Regions from separate parts of the Homo sapiens genome. Here region 1 is linked to region 2. The links are contacts of gene promoters, found by promoter capture Hi-C in blood cells and fetal thymus (Javierre and others, 2016). All regions are on one chromosome and are shown on one strand. Each heading gives the region's core, a stretch centred on a gene start or on the middle of the fragment in contact. The rest is flanking DNA. Distances are from core to core; before and after follow the strand shown.

Region 1 (7,037 bases), core at 1,781-4,280, 370 kb after region 2:
ACTTTATATCTGGACTGATATTTAGATTGAATGTTGAATATGAAGCCTATACAATGTTTAGTATCATTGGTATATTGAGCTATATTAGAAAATTATAGTCCCAATTGTGCATTAAGTTTGTGTGGTTGGTACATGGAGATATATGTGATGTGCCCTCTAAGAACCTACAGAGGAGGGAATATTTTTTTCTGAGAGTTAAATTAGTAAAAGCCATTTTTTTGCTAGTAAGAATTACCTGAAGGGCTACTCTGGGCACACTGCCTATTGGGTAGCCTGCTCTGCAAGGAGCAGTAAAAATAAAAAAAAGAATTGTCTAAAGATTTGAGGAATGCTAAAATCACTAATCAGTGTGCTCTAAGAATAATATTAGGGAGACAGTTCTGATATGATCAGAATTTAATGAGTAGTTTCCACGGATAACCTGAAAAAAAAAAAAAGGTGGGCACGGTGGCTCATCCCTGTAATCCCAACACTTTGGGATGCCGAGGCGAGAGGATTGCTTGAGCCCAGGAGTTCGAGAGCAGCCTAGGCAACATAGGTAGATCCCGTCTCTACAAAAAGTAAAATAAAAAATTAGCTGGGTACGGTGGCACACACCTGTCATCCCAGGTACTTGGAAGGCTGAAGCGGGAGGATCACTTGAGCCTGGGAGGTCAAGGCTGCAGTGGGCCATGGTCATGCAACTGCACTCTAACCTAGGTGACAGAGCAAGACCCTGTCTTTAAAAAAAAAAAAAGAATTTAGTGAGTGGAAATCTTAACTTATTTTACCGTATCCTCTTTTGGACGAAGTCTGTGAACAGGAGGATGGTGGTCAGCTCAGAAGATAGGAAAGGGAAACCTAAAGCATGCGGAGTTGGGTAGCTGGTGTGTTGGGAGATAAGTTTGTGATTTACTGTTTCCTGAGACAGACATATTCTTACTCTGCAGAGGGATTTGTGTAGTCTGATGTCATTAAATATTTGAGTGAGTCGTATAATTATTTTTCTGTGGTTTGTCCCTTGTTTACCCTAGCGCCACTTTTTTTTATTTGTTAGTTTTTTTTTCTTTTTCCGAGATGGAGTCTGGCTCTATTGCCCAGGCTGGAGTGCAGTGGCACAATCTTGGCTCACTGCAACCTCCGCCTCCTGGGTTCAAGCAATTCTCCTGCCTCAGCCTCCCAAGTAGCTGGGATTACAGGTGCGTGCCACCACGCTCCGCTAATTTTTGTATTTTTAGTAGAGGTGGGGTTTCACCATGTTGGCCAGGCTGGCCTCAAACTCCTGATCTCATAATCCACCCGTCTCAGCCTCCCAAAGTGCTGGGATTACAGGTGTGAGCCACTGTGCCCAGCCTTCTTTTTTTTTTTTTTTTTTTTGAGGCAGAGTCTCACGCTACCGCCCAGGCTGGAGTGCAGTGGTATGATCACCGCTCACTGTAGCCTCAACTTCTGGGGCTCCAGTGATCTTTCCACCTCAGCCTCCTGAGTAACTGGAACTACAGGCACACATGCTGGCTGATTGTTATATTTTTGGTAGAGACCATGTTTCGCCATGTTGCCCAGGCTTGTCTCGCACTCCTGGGCTCATGTGATCCTCCCACCTCGACCTCTCAAAGTGCTGGAACTACAGGTGTGAGCCACCATGCCCAGGCCTCTAGCTGAGGGAGAAAATGTACTCATCTGCTGATGAGAGCATTCTAGTCTGCTAGACATTTGCATTTCTTGTTATAAACAAAAAAATCAACCCAAAAGTAAAGAAATGGAAACAACACTAACCTGTGGGCCTACATATATTTTTTGTTTTGTTTTGTTTAGAGACATGGTCTTCCTCTGTTGTTCAGAGGTGTGCAGTGGTGTGATCATAGCTCACTGTATGTAACTTCTAACTTCTGGGCTCAAGCGATCCTCCTGCTTCAGCCTCCCAAAGTGCTGGGACTACAGGCGTGAGTCACTACACCCAGTCCACATGTGTATGTTTATGTTTCTGCAAGCTTGGTTAGAATAAGTTGGTCCTGTGAGAAAGATATGCTTATAGTCTGTTTCATCTGATGAAGTTTCTTTGTGGCTACTCCCCTAGTGTGGTGGTATTTTGCATTGCTCTGAACCTTAACATTTGAAAACTGTAACAGTTTAGGCCATTTAACTTGTGTGGCTTCACTGGTAAAATTAGAATGTTGAACAAATGATCTTATAGTCCTCCCAGGTCTAAATCTTTATGGATTCATAACCTGAGCATTATGTGCTCAGTTGTAGCAGACCTACAGGTAAGAGTTAGAAGGAAGCTTAGAGAGTATTGAAATATCACTGATATTACCCATATGACTAAAGTTGCACTTTTTTCTTTCTTTTTTTTTTGAGACGGAGTCTAATTCTGTTGCTCAGGCTGTAGTGCAGTGGCACGATCTTTGCTCACTGCAGCCTTGATCTCCTGGGCTCAAGCGATCCTCCCACCTCAGCCTCCAGAGTGCTGGGACTATAGACACACACCATCTTGCCCTGCTAATTTTTTAATTTTTTTTGTACAGATGTGGTTTTGCCATGGTTCCCAGGCTGGTCTCGAACTCCTGAACTCAAGCAGTCCCTCCACTTTGGCCTCCCAAAGTACAGGGATTACAGGCGTACGCCACTACACCTGCCCTAAAGTTGCACATCTTAACTAACCTTGTTTTGTTTGGCTCCGCTGTACTGACCAGGTCATCATTTAGGTATTACTGCTAGACTAAAGCTTCTTAAAGCAAGGCCAATGTCTCCTGAGTACAGAATCATGTCTGTCACAGAGAAAAGGCATTAAGTACTTATTGAGTGAATGTATTAGAGCATACCTGGGACAATGTATTTGGGACATAGCTAAACATGGTTTGGTTATTAATGACTTTTTAAAATATTCTCTATTATGGAAAATTTTAAACATGTAGGAGTAGACAGGATTATATAATAAACCCTCATTTACCTATTACCCTGCTTCAGTAACCATAATCATTCTTGTTTCATCTTTATCTCTTCCCACTCTTCTCTTCTATTATTTTCATGTAAATCACAAAGTTTATATCATTTAATCTGTAATTATTCCAATATGTATTTCAAAGATAAGGACTTTAAAAAATCATGGCCATACCATTGTCACATATTAAAGAACGACTTGGTTTTGATAAATACTAAGTTAACTTCACTTCAGAATATGTGTACTAAAGATTCCCAGTAAACCTGTTATGTGTAGTTGCCAGGCAGTTAAACTTAGAAATAAATCAATAGGACTAGCTTTATTGTTTTTCTGTTTCATATTTAGGCTATCAATATGACGGCTGAAGAAACAGTGAATGTAAAAGAGGTTGAAATCATTAAGCTAATTTTGGACTTCCTGAATTCAAAGAAGCTTCACATTAGTATGCTGGCCCTGGAGAAGGAAAGTGGAGTCATAAATGGCCTGTTTTCAGATGATATGCTTTTCCTGAGGTATGATTTCATTATACTGTGAAGTTTGTAGCTCCTTCGAAGAAATGTTAAGTATTAATAAGGTAATATATATAATACAGATAGAACTTTATAATCATGAAAAGGCTATGTAAGTATAATTTTAAAAAATATTTTATTTTATTTTATTTTTTGAGACGGAGTCTTGCTCTGTCACCCAGGCTGGAGTGCAGTGGCGAGATGTCGGCTCACTGCAAGCTCCGCCTCCCGGGTTCACGCCATTCTCCTGCCTCAGCCTCCTGCGTAGCTGGGACTACAGGCGCCCATCACCACGGCCAGCTAATTTTTGTATTTTTAGTAGAGATGGGGTTTCACCATGTTAGCCAGGATGGTCTCGATCTCCTGACCTCGTGATCTGCCCACCTTGGCCTCCCAAAGTGCTGGGATTACAGGCGTGAGCCACCGCACCCGACCTAAAAAAATATTTTAAAAATAGAACATTTACAAAATAGGCTGGGCGTGGTGGCTCACGCCTGTAATCCCAGCACTTTGGGAGGCTGAGGCAGGCGGATCACTTGAGGTCAGGAGTTTTGAGACCAGCCTGGCCAACATGGTGAAATCCCGCCTCTACTAAAAATATAAAAATTAACCGGGCATGGTGGCACATGCCTGTAATCCCAGCTAGTCGGGAGGCTGAGGCAGGAGAATCATTTGAACCAGGGAGACGGAGGTTCCAGTGAGCTGAGATCGCACCGTTGCACTCCAGCCTGGGCAGCAGAGTGAGACTCCGTCTCAAAAATACAAAAATAAAAAAAAGGAACATTTACAAAATAATGCTTTCTGTAGAATGTTTTCAGTAGTAAGACCCAGAGGTCTGTTAAAAAGAACAAGAGTCATCACTCCATTGTGGTTGTGGTATGATAATAAAAGATATTTGACTAAGAAAATCGGACTTTGAAAAGGTAAAGAAAATGTTTCTGAAATACCATTTTTTGGCCATAGAAATAAGATGTGTTCATTATAGAAAATATAGAAAGATAAATAAAAGAAAAATTACCCCACCACACAGACATAATATTGTTCTTATTCCTTGCTGTTTTCATTCTTAGAGTGTAAATTCTGTGCATCTTTTTTTTGCATCTATTAAAAATAACAATTCTGTTGTGTTTATGATTTAGAATCATGCCTTATCTATTAACATCACAAGGTTTCTCTGTGTGATTACAAACTTATATTTAAAAAATTTTCAGGCTGGGCATGGTGACTCAAACCTGCAATCCTAGCCATTTGCGAGTCCAAGGCAGGCGGATCACCTGAGGTCAGGAGTTTGAGACCAGACTGGCCAACGTAGTGAAACCCCGTCTCTACTAAAAATACAAAAATTAGCTGGGTGTGGTGGTGCATGCCTCTAGTCCCAGCTACTCGAGAGGCTAAGGCAGGAAAATCACTTGAGCCCGAGAGGCAGAGGTTGCAGTGAGCCATGATGGTGCCACTGTACTCCAGCCTGGGCGACAGAGCAAGACTAAATAAATAAATAAATAATAAATTAAATAAATAATAAATTAAAAAAGGCCAGGCGTGGTGGCTTACGCCTGTAATCCCAGCACTTTGGGAGGCTGAGCCGTGTGGATCACTTAAGGTTAGGAGTTCGAGACCAGCCTGGCCAACGTGGTGAAATCCCGTCTCTATTAAAAATACTAAAATTAGCTGGGCATAGTGGTGCATGCCTGTAATTCCAGCTACAAATAAAAAATTTCAGTTTACTTAATTTCCTAATGGCTCCCCTAATTTTAAACAATTGTTCCCAATTTATCTTAAATAATTGCTCTACAGAACATTTTATACTTGCGCCTTTTTTTTTTTTTTTTTGAGATAGAGGCTTGCTTTGTCACCTAGGCTGGGGTGCAGTGGCATGATCTCAGCTCACTACAACCTCCACCTCCTGGGTTCAAGTGATTCTCTCGCCTTAGCCTCCCAGGTAGCTGGGACTACAGGTGCACACCACCACGTCCGGCTAATTTTTGTATTTTTAGTAGAGGCAAGGTTTCACCATTTTGGCAAGGCTGGTCTCAAACTCCTGACCTCAGGTGATCTGCCTGCCTCGGCCTCCCAAAGTGCTGGGATTACAGACATGAGCCACTGCACCTAGCTGAGACTTTTTCTATATATTGGATTATTTCCTTAGGACAAGATTCTTAGAGGTGGAATTGCAAGGCAAAGTGAAGTAACATGTTTGCCAAAATGGAAAGCTAAATATATTCTAGTCTGAATTGGATAGAAACGGAAAATCCCAAATTTGCAGGCAGAAGTGTATTCTATTTTTATGAGATACCAAATATCCTTGACAAGAAGTACAGATTCTTGGACATGTGGCATTTTGTGACTTGGAAAGCCTCAAGAAATGAAGTGTTCCTCCCAGGAGGCAGAGGTTTCAGTGAGTTGAGATCGTACCATTGTATTCCAGCTTGGGCGACAAGAAGGAAACTCCATCTCAGAAAAAAAAAAAAAAATGAAGTGTTCCTAGCTTATGAAAAGGAACCATTCAACAACAACAACAATAACAGCAATAACAAAGCTTTATTATATTAGGGGACTCTATTTAAACTTGTTGCACTTCCCTATATTTTGTGTTATGAATATCATCCAGCCCCAGGGAGCTTAGTTAATAGTGTAGTATTTTTTTAAGCACTATCTTTGAAGCATTAATACTCCTAGAAGTTAACAGTGGCAGCTCTCAAGTACCCTCCTGCTTGATTTATGATGAAATTTTACTGGTCTGAGGTGAAATGCAAAGAATAATAAAATAGTAGGTTTTTCATTAAACTAAATATGTTCGGCTGGGCACAGTGGCTCACGCCTGTAATCCCAGCACTTTGGGAGGCCAAGGTGGGTGGATCACGAGGTCAGGAGATCGAGACCATCCTGGCTAATGCGGTGAAACCCCCCGTCTCTACTAAAAATACAAAAAATTAGCCAGGCGTGGTGGCGGGTGCCTGTAGTCCTAGCTACTTGGGAGGCTGAGGCAGGAGAATGGTGTGAACCCAGGAGGCAGAGCTTGCAGTGAGCCGAGATCGTGAGCTTGCAGTGAGCTGAGATCGTGCCACTGCATTCCAGCCTGGGCGACAGAGCAAGACTCTGTCTCAAAAAAAAAAAAAAAAAAACAACTAAATATGTTCATCTTAAAGGGCTTGCCTTTGAAATTGTGTCCTTTCTTACATTTTAAATATTGAAATGCACCTTTATAAAATGATTATGATATACAGTGATTGCCTTATTTTTATTTAAAAAATTTCTTTATGTTAATTTTTTTTTTATAAAGGTAGGATCTTGCTATATTGCCCTTGGCTGATCTTGAACTCCTGGCCTCAAATGATTCTCCCACCTTGGCCTCCCAAAGTGCTAGGATTTACAGGCATGAGCCACTGTGCCCATCTTGCTTTTATTAATATTTCTTCTTTGCAGCATATTGTTAATCCTATGTAGGTCTTCCTGCCCATCCTTCCCATTTAAAATTTCTCTGTTCTAAAACATTCAAAAATAGGGAAATTGCCGTTGTGTAAGAAAAGATGTAAGAATGCCTTGTAACTTTTGGATATTCCCATAGACCATTTAAAGTAGGATGAAACTTGTTCTTATTCCTTGCTGTT
Region 2 (7,047 bases), core at 4,428-6,927:
GCAGTGGGATGATCACAACTCACTGCAGCCACAACCTCCCAGGGTTAAGCAATTCTCCCACCTCAGCCTCCTGAGTACGTGGGACACAGGCGTTTGCTACACCCCCTGCTAGTTTTTGGGGTTTTTTTTTTTTGGTAGACACGGGGTCTCCCTGTGTTGTCCAGGCTGGTTTTTGACTCTCGGGCTCAAGTGATCCTCCCGCCTCAGTCTCCCAAAGTGCTGGGGTTACAAGCATGAGCTACTGTTTCCAGCCATGTGTTTAATTTTAAAAATTGAAGAAAAAAGACACTATGAGGAAATGACATGTAAAACACAAATCTTTTGAGGCAAATGTGAAGTGGCACCTATTGCTCAGTATTGCCCAAAACTGTGGGACATGATCAACAGAGAGAATGGAAAACCTAGTCATGATAGTTAAATTTGAAATTAACCATCTTCTGACCCTAGTTTTTTATTGTTGTTGTTGCTTTTAAATGTAAATATAATCTGGATTTCCAGTTATTACTGATATCTTCAGCAGTCACAACTGGTTTCCTATGCCAGTGTTAATGAAATCTTTTCTTGGCCAGTTCTTTTAAAAAAACGTAACAGGCCAGGTGCAGTAGCTCACATCTGTAATCCTAGCACTTTGGGAAGCTGAGGTGGGCAGATCACCTGAGGTTGGGAGTTCGAGACCAGCCTGACCAACATGGAGAATCGCCGTCTCTACTAAAAATACAAAATTAGCCGGGTGTGGTGGCGCATGTCTGTAATCCCAGCTACTCGAGAGGCTGAGGCAGGAGAATCGCTTGAACCCGGGAGGCGGAGGTTGCGGTGAGCCTAGATCACGCCATTGCACTCCAGCCTGAACAACAAGAGCGAAACTCCATCTCAAAACAAAACCAAAAACAAACAAAAAAAACTTTTTTGTTAAGTTTTGCCACATAAACAATTTTAGAGAAAATACCTGACAATAGTTAATGATTATTTGTTGTAGGCAATAATGGTCTAAGCACTTTATATATATTAACATTTAATCCTCACAACTACTCTATGAATTAGCTATTCTTATTGTCCTCATTGTACAGATGAAGAAATAGAGGCACAGAGTGGCCAAGTAACCTCAAGTCACACACACAAGCTCAACTTTTAAGTATTTAAATATACTTCAAATATATTTCTAAAGGAGTCTTTAACAGAAAAAAGTACTGACTCCATGTACTTTGCTGCTGCTTTTGTGATCCCTGTTGAAGTGACTTCAAGAAGTGACAATGATGCCAGGCATTTGGTTAAGTATGATGTGGTGAGTTAACCTTAAAATAGAAAATTTGGTCAATAAGCATTTTTATTTTGGAGCCAGAGAGCTATTTTAGGGACCTGCTGCCTGGAAAGGATATCCTTGGGACAGCAGATCCCTTAGTTCCTAATGAATAGCTGCATCACCAACACAGCTTCTCCTGACCATGGTAGGGCCATCAGCAGGGTAACTCAGCCCAGCTTATTAACCCTTCTGTTTTCTTTCCAGCTAGCCACAGTGCAGCCTGGCCAGAATTTCCACATGTTCACAAAGGAAGAACTTGAAGAGGTTATCAAGGACATTTAAGGAATCCTGATCCTCAGAACTTCTCTGGGACAATTTCAGTTCTAATAATGTCCTTAAATTTTATTTCCAGCTCCTGTTCCTTGGAAAATCTCCATTGTATGTGCATTTTTTAAATGATGTCTGTACATAAAGGCAGTTCTGAAATAAAGAAAATTTTAAAATATTTGTTAATAGACTGTTCTCTTCTAATAGTCTTTTTTTTTTTTTTTTTTTTAAGAGATGAGGTCTCACTATATTGCCCAGGCTGGTTTCAAACTCCTGGGTTCAAGTGATCTTCCCGCCTCTGCCTCCTGAAGTGCTAGGATTATAGGCGAGAGCCACTGTGCCCAGCCATTGTAATACAGTCTTTTGTTTGAAATGCAAATGTTAGTGGGCCAAAAGGACAGTGTTATTAATATCCCTATTCTATGAAGATGTCTGTTCTAAAACTGTTTTAGTGATGCTCTATAACAGAATCAACTATATCCATTAATCCCATGGTGTTGATAAATGAACTAGTCCAGCTCTTCCCAGTGGTTAATAGATGTTAACAGCACTGTAAATCCATTTCGGCCCTATAATTTCTGGAGCAAACGTGTATTTTTGCTGCTTTTCTTATAAGGAGATGCTACTAATTGACTATCAGAAGAACATGTTTTGAGGTCCTCCTCAAAACATTGATGGGTTGGAATCAGCCATCAACAGTGTTGTACCAGTTCTTGGGTCTTGATAGACAATTTGGAAAGAGATTTCCTTGTTTACGAAGTGAAGGACTAAGAATTAAATTAATGACCTTGGCCTCACTGGCAATCAATTACAAATCTCTATATCAGTAAGAGAATTGTAAAATTCAGAAGCAGTTTACATTAGACTTTGGAATGAATGATGAACTTTCCCCATTAGAGCTGCCATCATATGATTGGTGGAGATTGTTTAAAGAATCATTCTATCTCAGCCTCAAAAATTACCACGGGAAGATGGTATCAGTATCACTACTTAACAGATGAAGAATCTAATGCTGTGTGCCCATGGACACACAAAATTAAGCTGTTGGGACTTGAACAGCTCAAATTTTCTTGTTTCAGATCACCAGCTCTTGAGTAATAGGGAAATCTGGAGATTTGAAAAGTACTTGCACTGTCCACAACATGGCTAATCCATATGTGGATGATGCAGAATTGATTTAATTCACTAACAGGGACCCCATAATTATTTGCTGGGCTCTGGGTATATTGATGTGTAGGAAGTTGTACTATATGTTAATAAATTATGACTATTTGGATAGGCTGAATTCATACTAAATCCATACTGTAGTTCAACAAAAAACAACATGTTTATATACATTTGGAAACTGCAATGATAGGAAACATTTGGAAGAAAGGGATTTTGCCCTAGAATAACACATAAGGAAAGCAGAGAATTAGAGTATATTGTTACTGAATGTTCCAGAGACTTCTAGTGATTTTAACACTTATTAAGTATAGCATGTTGATGGGGAGATTTGTTTCTCTAAAGATCACTTTGTTTTATTAAATCCTAATAGAAAATACCCTTGAAAATCCTATCTCATTTATTCCTGTAACAAATTTATTGAGCACCTACCTACTATATGCCAAGAAATGTATTAGCCATCAGGCAGAGAGCTGTTCAAATGGTAGATATGATCTGTGCTCCTGTGAAACTTCTAGTGGGGAGAGCCAAACAATAAACAATATTCCTTTTTAACTCTAGGTTAATGCAGAAATGGATAAAGCCCATGTTGCTTTTGGGAGAGGTGAGTTGTGTCTCTGAATCACATGCATTTCATAGGGGGAAAAATGCCCAAATACTAAGGAGTAGCTCTTAGCCTATGTCCGTTCGCCTCAGCTTAAGTTGTTTTCCCTCCCACTGGCTGGGCAGCATATTTGTGTTTTACCTGGTAAAACAGTAAATTTCGTACCTTCTATAATTGGCATTCTTCAAAGAGGTAGAACTTTGATTTTTTTGTAGAATATTAAAACAAGCTTTCTTAGGTTAAAGAAGTGATCTTACTACGAACAGCAATGGTTTCATGATGTGTAATTGCTTTATGTTATCTTTCTGCTATAGAATGTTTCCTGGAGAAAGGTACGGTTTTTAGTAATAAGATAAATTTACTTTAGTCCTGCAAATAAGGTGAAATCTTATGTCCAGTATCTCACAAAGGAGAACTGACAGTGCCACTTTTATATTTAATGTCAATCTCATTAGACAAAAATGAAATATAGTTCCTAGGGTTTCCAATTTAAAAAGTGAAATAATAAATATATTCACTCAAACATTTTCTCAGTGCCATATGCAAGTTACCATGTCCCAGAAGCTGATACAGTTTGAAGAAGGAAATATATAAGTACTGTAAGCCTGTGATAACTAAAAGCAACATACTAAAAAGTGAAGGTACAGATAATTGGAACAAATTTAATAGCGTTTAAAAGTGTATTTGGTAATTTCTCCAGGAGGTGGCACTGTTGAGTTGTTTTTTCTTTTCAGACAGTAAGACAATAGACCATTCATCTTTGTGTCACCCAAACAAAGAAATATTCCTTTATAACCCCCTTTCCTCCCCCCACCTAATCACATGCTACTGGAACTGACTGTCTTGTGATCTACTCCCATAGTTGGCATAGATTTAAAAATAATCTTTTTTAAATTAATCTGATAGTAGTTATGGAAAGGAACAAATTGTTCACCAATTTTCATCAGCTTTATCTTTTCAGTCCAGTAACTGAGAACTTAAAAAGACTATTCTAGTGATTTTACTATCCTGCTCAGATGGCATTCAAAAACATTTTTCACTTCTCACGTCTTGGAAAAATTTGTAAATTCGTTAAGTCTTTTTGTTTGAAAGTTAATGTGACTGGAAATATTTTAATGTAAATATCGGGTTGGGTGCATTGTATCATTTTGCTCTACAATGACTATATCCTCATTTGGGTTTATGGCCAGTTTATAATTAAAAGTAATCTTTACTTGCTTTGAGTGTAATGACTTGCATATTTTGTATCTTTCTATTTGCTACCTTTTCTACTGAACAATTTCTAGCTTTCTGAAGGGATGGAGTCAGTAAGCTTAAGGATTCAGAACTGGTTTTACCTGTGCTACGTGTTGTAGAAGTTGTGTGTGCAGCTTCTGCGGTAAAGGGAACAGCGTAGGGGTTTTATTTTATTCATTAGAGGTGGATCGGGGTGCTAATTTAGAGGACATCACATACTGGAACCAAACTTGTCCGAAGCTCTCACTGCAGAGTTAAGGCACTTTGGTAAAATAAATGTGCATCTAGGAAATGATCATGTGTACAGTAGGCATTGGATCATTCTCTTGCCCCTCTTTTACCTGCCCCTAATGCCTAAGCTACATTCGAAGTCCTGGAAAACCTGTAAGTAATTCCGCCTTTGGCCTACCTCCCCTCAGAAGAGGAAGGTGAGAGAGGCCAAACGTATGGAAAGACTATTCTTCAGGCTTGCAGGAGTCACGGATGTCCTGATGTCTGTCTCCGTAGGATGTGGCCCACATCAGTTCGCATTCACCTTCTTGCAGCAAGGCAGCTGCTTAGCAGACAATGGGCGCTCCAGTGAGCGGGGTTTATAAAAACCCGAAGCCCCGGTTCATGATGGAGCCCCCTTTTCCAGCTGAGCAAGCTCAGGGATTTCCTGGGTAGGTTTTTCCAGGCTCTGCCTCACCGAAGGAATTTTAGGAGTGTCTCTGGGGAACAGGAGGGACGTAACCCAGCCCCAACTTGAGGGCGCTAGAGGTGCGGCAAGGGGTCGCGACGCCAGGAGCCCGGGGCTCGGCGGGAAGGTATGAGAAGCTCCTACGTGAACTCCACAAGCCGGGCCCGGGAGACGCCGGGCGAGGCGGGGTTGACCTCAGCAGTCTCTGCCCCGTTCCAGCCAATCAGTCCCGCATCTTAGCATCCGAATCCAGGACCCCCGAAGCCGGAGGCGACGCGAGCCAATGAGGAGTGGGCCGGGGAAGAGGGACAGGCGGCCAGCCTATGGGGCGGAGAGGCCCGGCCGCGCGTATCCAAGGAGCGCCGCGCTCGGCTCGGGGGTGTGGCGCGCGCCGGCGGGGGTGGGCGGGCGCGCCGGGCGGCAGGTGTCGGCGTCGGCGGCATTCGGCGGCGATGGAGCGGCCCTGGGGAGCTGCGGACGGCCTCTCGCGCTGGCCCCATGGCCTCGGCCTCCTCCTCCTCCTGCAGCTGCTGCCGCCGTCGACCCTCAGCCAGGACCGGCTGGACGCGCCGCCGCCGCCCGCTGCGCCGCTGCCGCGCTGGTCTGGCCCCATCGGGGTGAGCTGGGGGCTGCGGGCGGCCGCAGCCGGGGGCGCGTTTCCCCGCGGCGGCCGTTGGCGTCGCAGCGCGCCGGGCGAGGACGAGGAGTGCGGCCGGGTCCGGGACTTCGTCGCCAAGCTGGCCAACAACACGCACCAGGTGAGCGGGCGCCGGGCCCGGGAGCCGCTCGGGTGCGAGGTGCCGCCCGCGTGCCCCTCCCGGCCCGTGCGCCCCGCGACTCCCGGAGGAGACCCCAGCCCTGCCGCGCCCGCGTCCCCCGGGCCGCAGCCCCGAAACTGCGGCGGGCGGGCGGGCGGAGTCGGGCCCGGGCGGCCGGCGGGGCTGTGTTTTGTCATAGGGGAGGCAATCTTAGACTTCCACCGCATTCTTTTTTTTTTTTTTAAGTTGTCAAAATCTCTTGAACATCGTTTTTCGTCTGTATAAATAATCAGGACCCAGTAACGCTGTTAGGCCCCAGGAAGGTGAAGGAGTAATTAACTCTTGAGCGCTTGCAGAAGTTGGGCTGCGCAGAAGCAAAGGTGTGTCCTCTCTGGGTCAGTACTTTCCGGGTGGGAGAGGCGGGAGTTCAGGAGGCCCGAAGCAGCGATCTGGTCACCGTGTTTTAATAGTTAAGGGGACTAGCTTGGAAATGAGATGGCAATATTTATGTGATCTCTTTTACTGCTTCAGATTTGACCTTCTGTCATGGTACGGAAGTCTGACTAGCATGTCTATATCCCGTGGTGACAAGATTTTCAATAGTTAAGAAACGCATTGCACATATTCTGCTTTGAGCCAGCTCTTGGTCAAAAGACTTTCAAAATTATGGGATTTCTGTCCCTGGGGACAAGCAGCTCAACCTTTGCACACTACTGGACTGACAAAACTAATTATTAAGAAAGTCCTGGTTCCTTGCTTCAGCACAACTTGGGCATCTTTCTCCTATTTCTCTAAAATTAACAATTTAATCCTTGCTAGCCACATTTGCATAATGTATTTTCAATTCTATATATTTTCTCCCTTGCCTGTTTTCCTCTTTCAAAGAAAATGAATTGCACTTGGGGGCAGAGATGGGTGGCCAAGGCTCTGTGCCAGCACTTGTCCTTCTGTAACCGTTTTTCAGCGTCAGCCAAGCCTCAGTCTCCCTTTGGACTGCCTGGTTATCTGGACCATACTTGTTACCTGTAATAGAATTCTC

Evidence for each region. Contacts are between HindIII fragments. The CHiCAGO score rates a contact against its expected background, and 5 or more counts as called.
Region 1: a contact is called between a fragment that was not itself captured here and the fragment with the promoter of SORT1 in region 2, in 1 of 17 cell types (M2 macrophages). The highest score is 6.2, in M2 macrophages.

What each region holds. Positions count from the first base shown.
Region 1 is chr1:109,019,750-109,026,786 of GRCh38, reverse strand. It overlaps WDR47 (WD repeat domain 47), which reads left to right. Exons shown (of 15, transcript NM_001142551.2): 2 at 3,266-3,432. The coding sequence starts at 3,275. Among named protein-coding and RNA genes, the nearest start is that of WDR47, 19 kb to the left of the region's middle. The HindIII fragment of the contact is 648 bases long and covers 2,707-3,354 here.
Region 2 is chr1:109,396,548-109,403,594 of GRCh38, reverse strand. SORT1 (sortilin 1) reads left to right here and starts at 5,677. Exons shown (of 20, transcript NM_002959.7): 1 at 5,677-6,008. The coding sequence starts at 5,703. PSMA5 (proteasome 20S subunit alpha 5) reads left to right here. Exons shown (of 9, transcript NM_002790.4): 9 at 1,505-4,553. The coding sequence ends at 1,582. RefSeq lists an enhancer at 4,543-5,524 and silencers at 5,551-5,680, 5,721-5,790, 5,801-5,900. The HindIII fragment of the contact is 10,275 bases long and covers 4,650-7,047 here.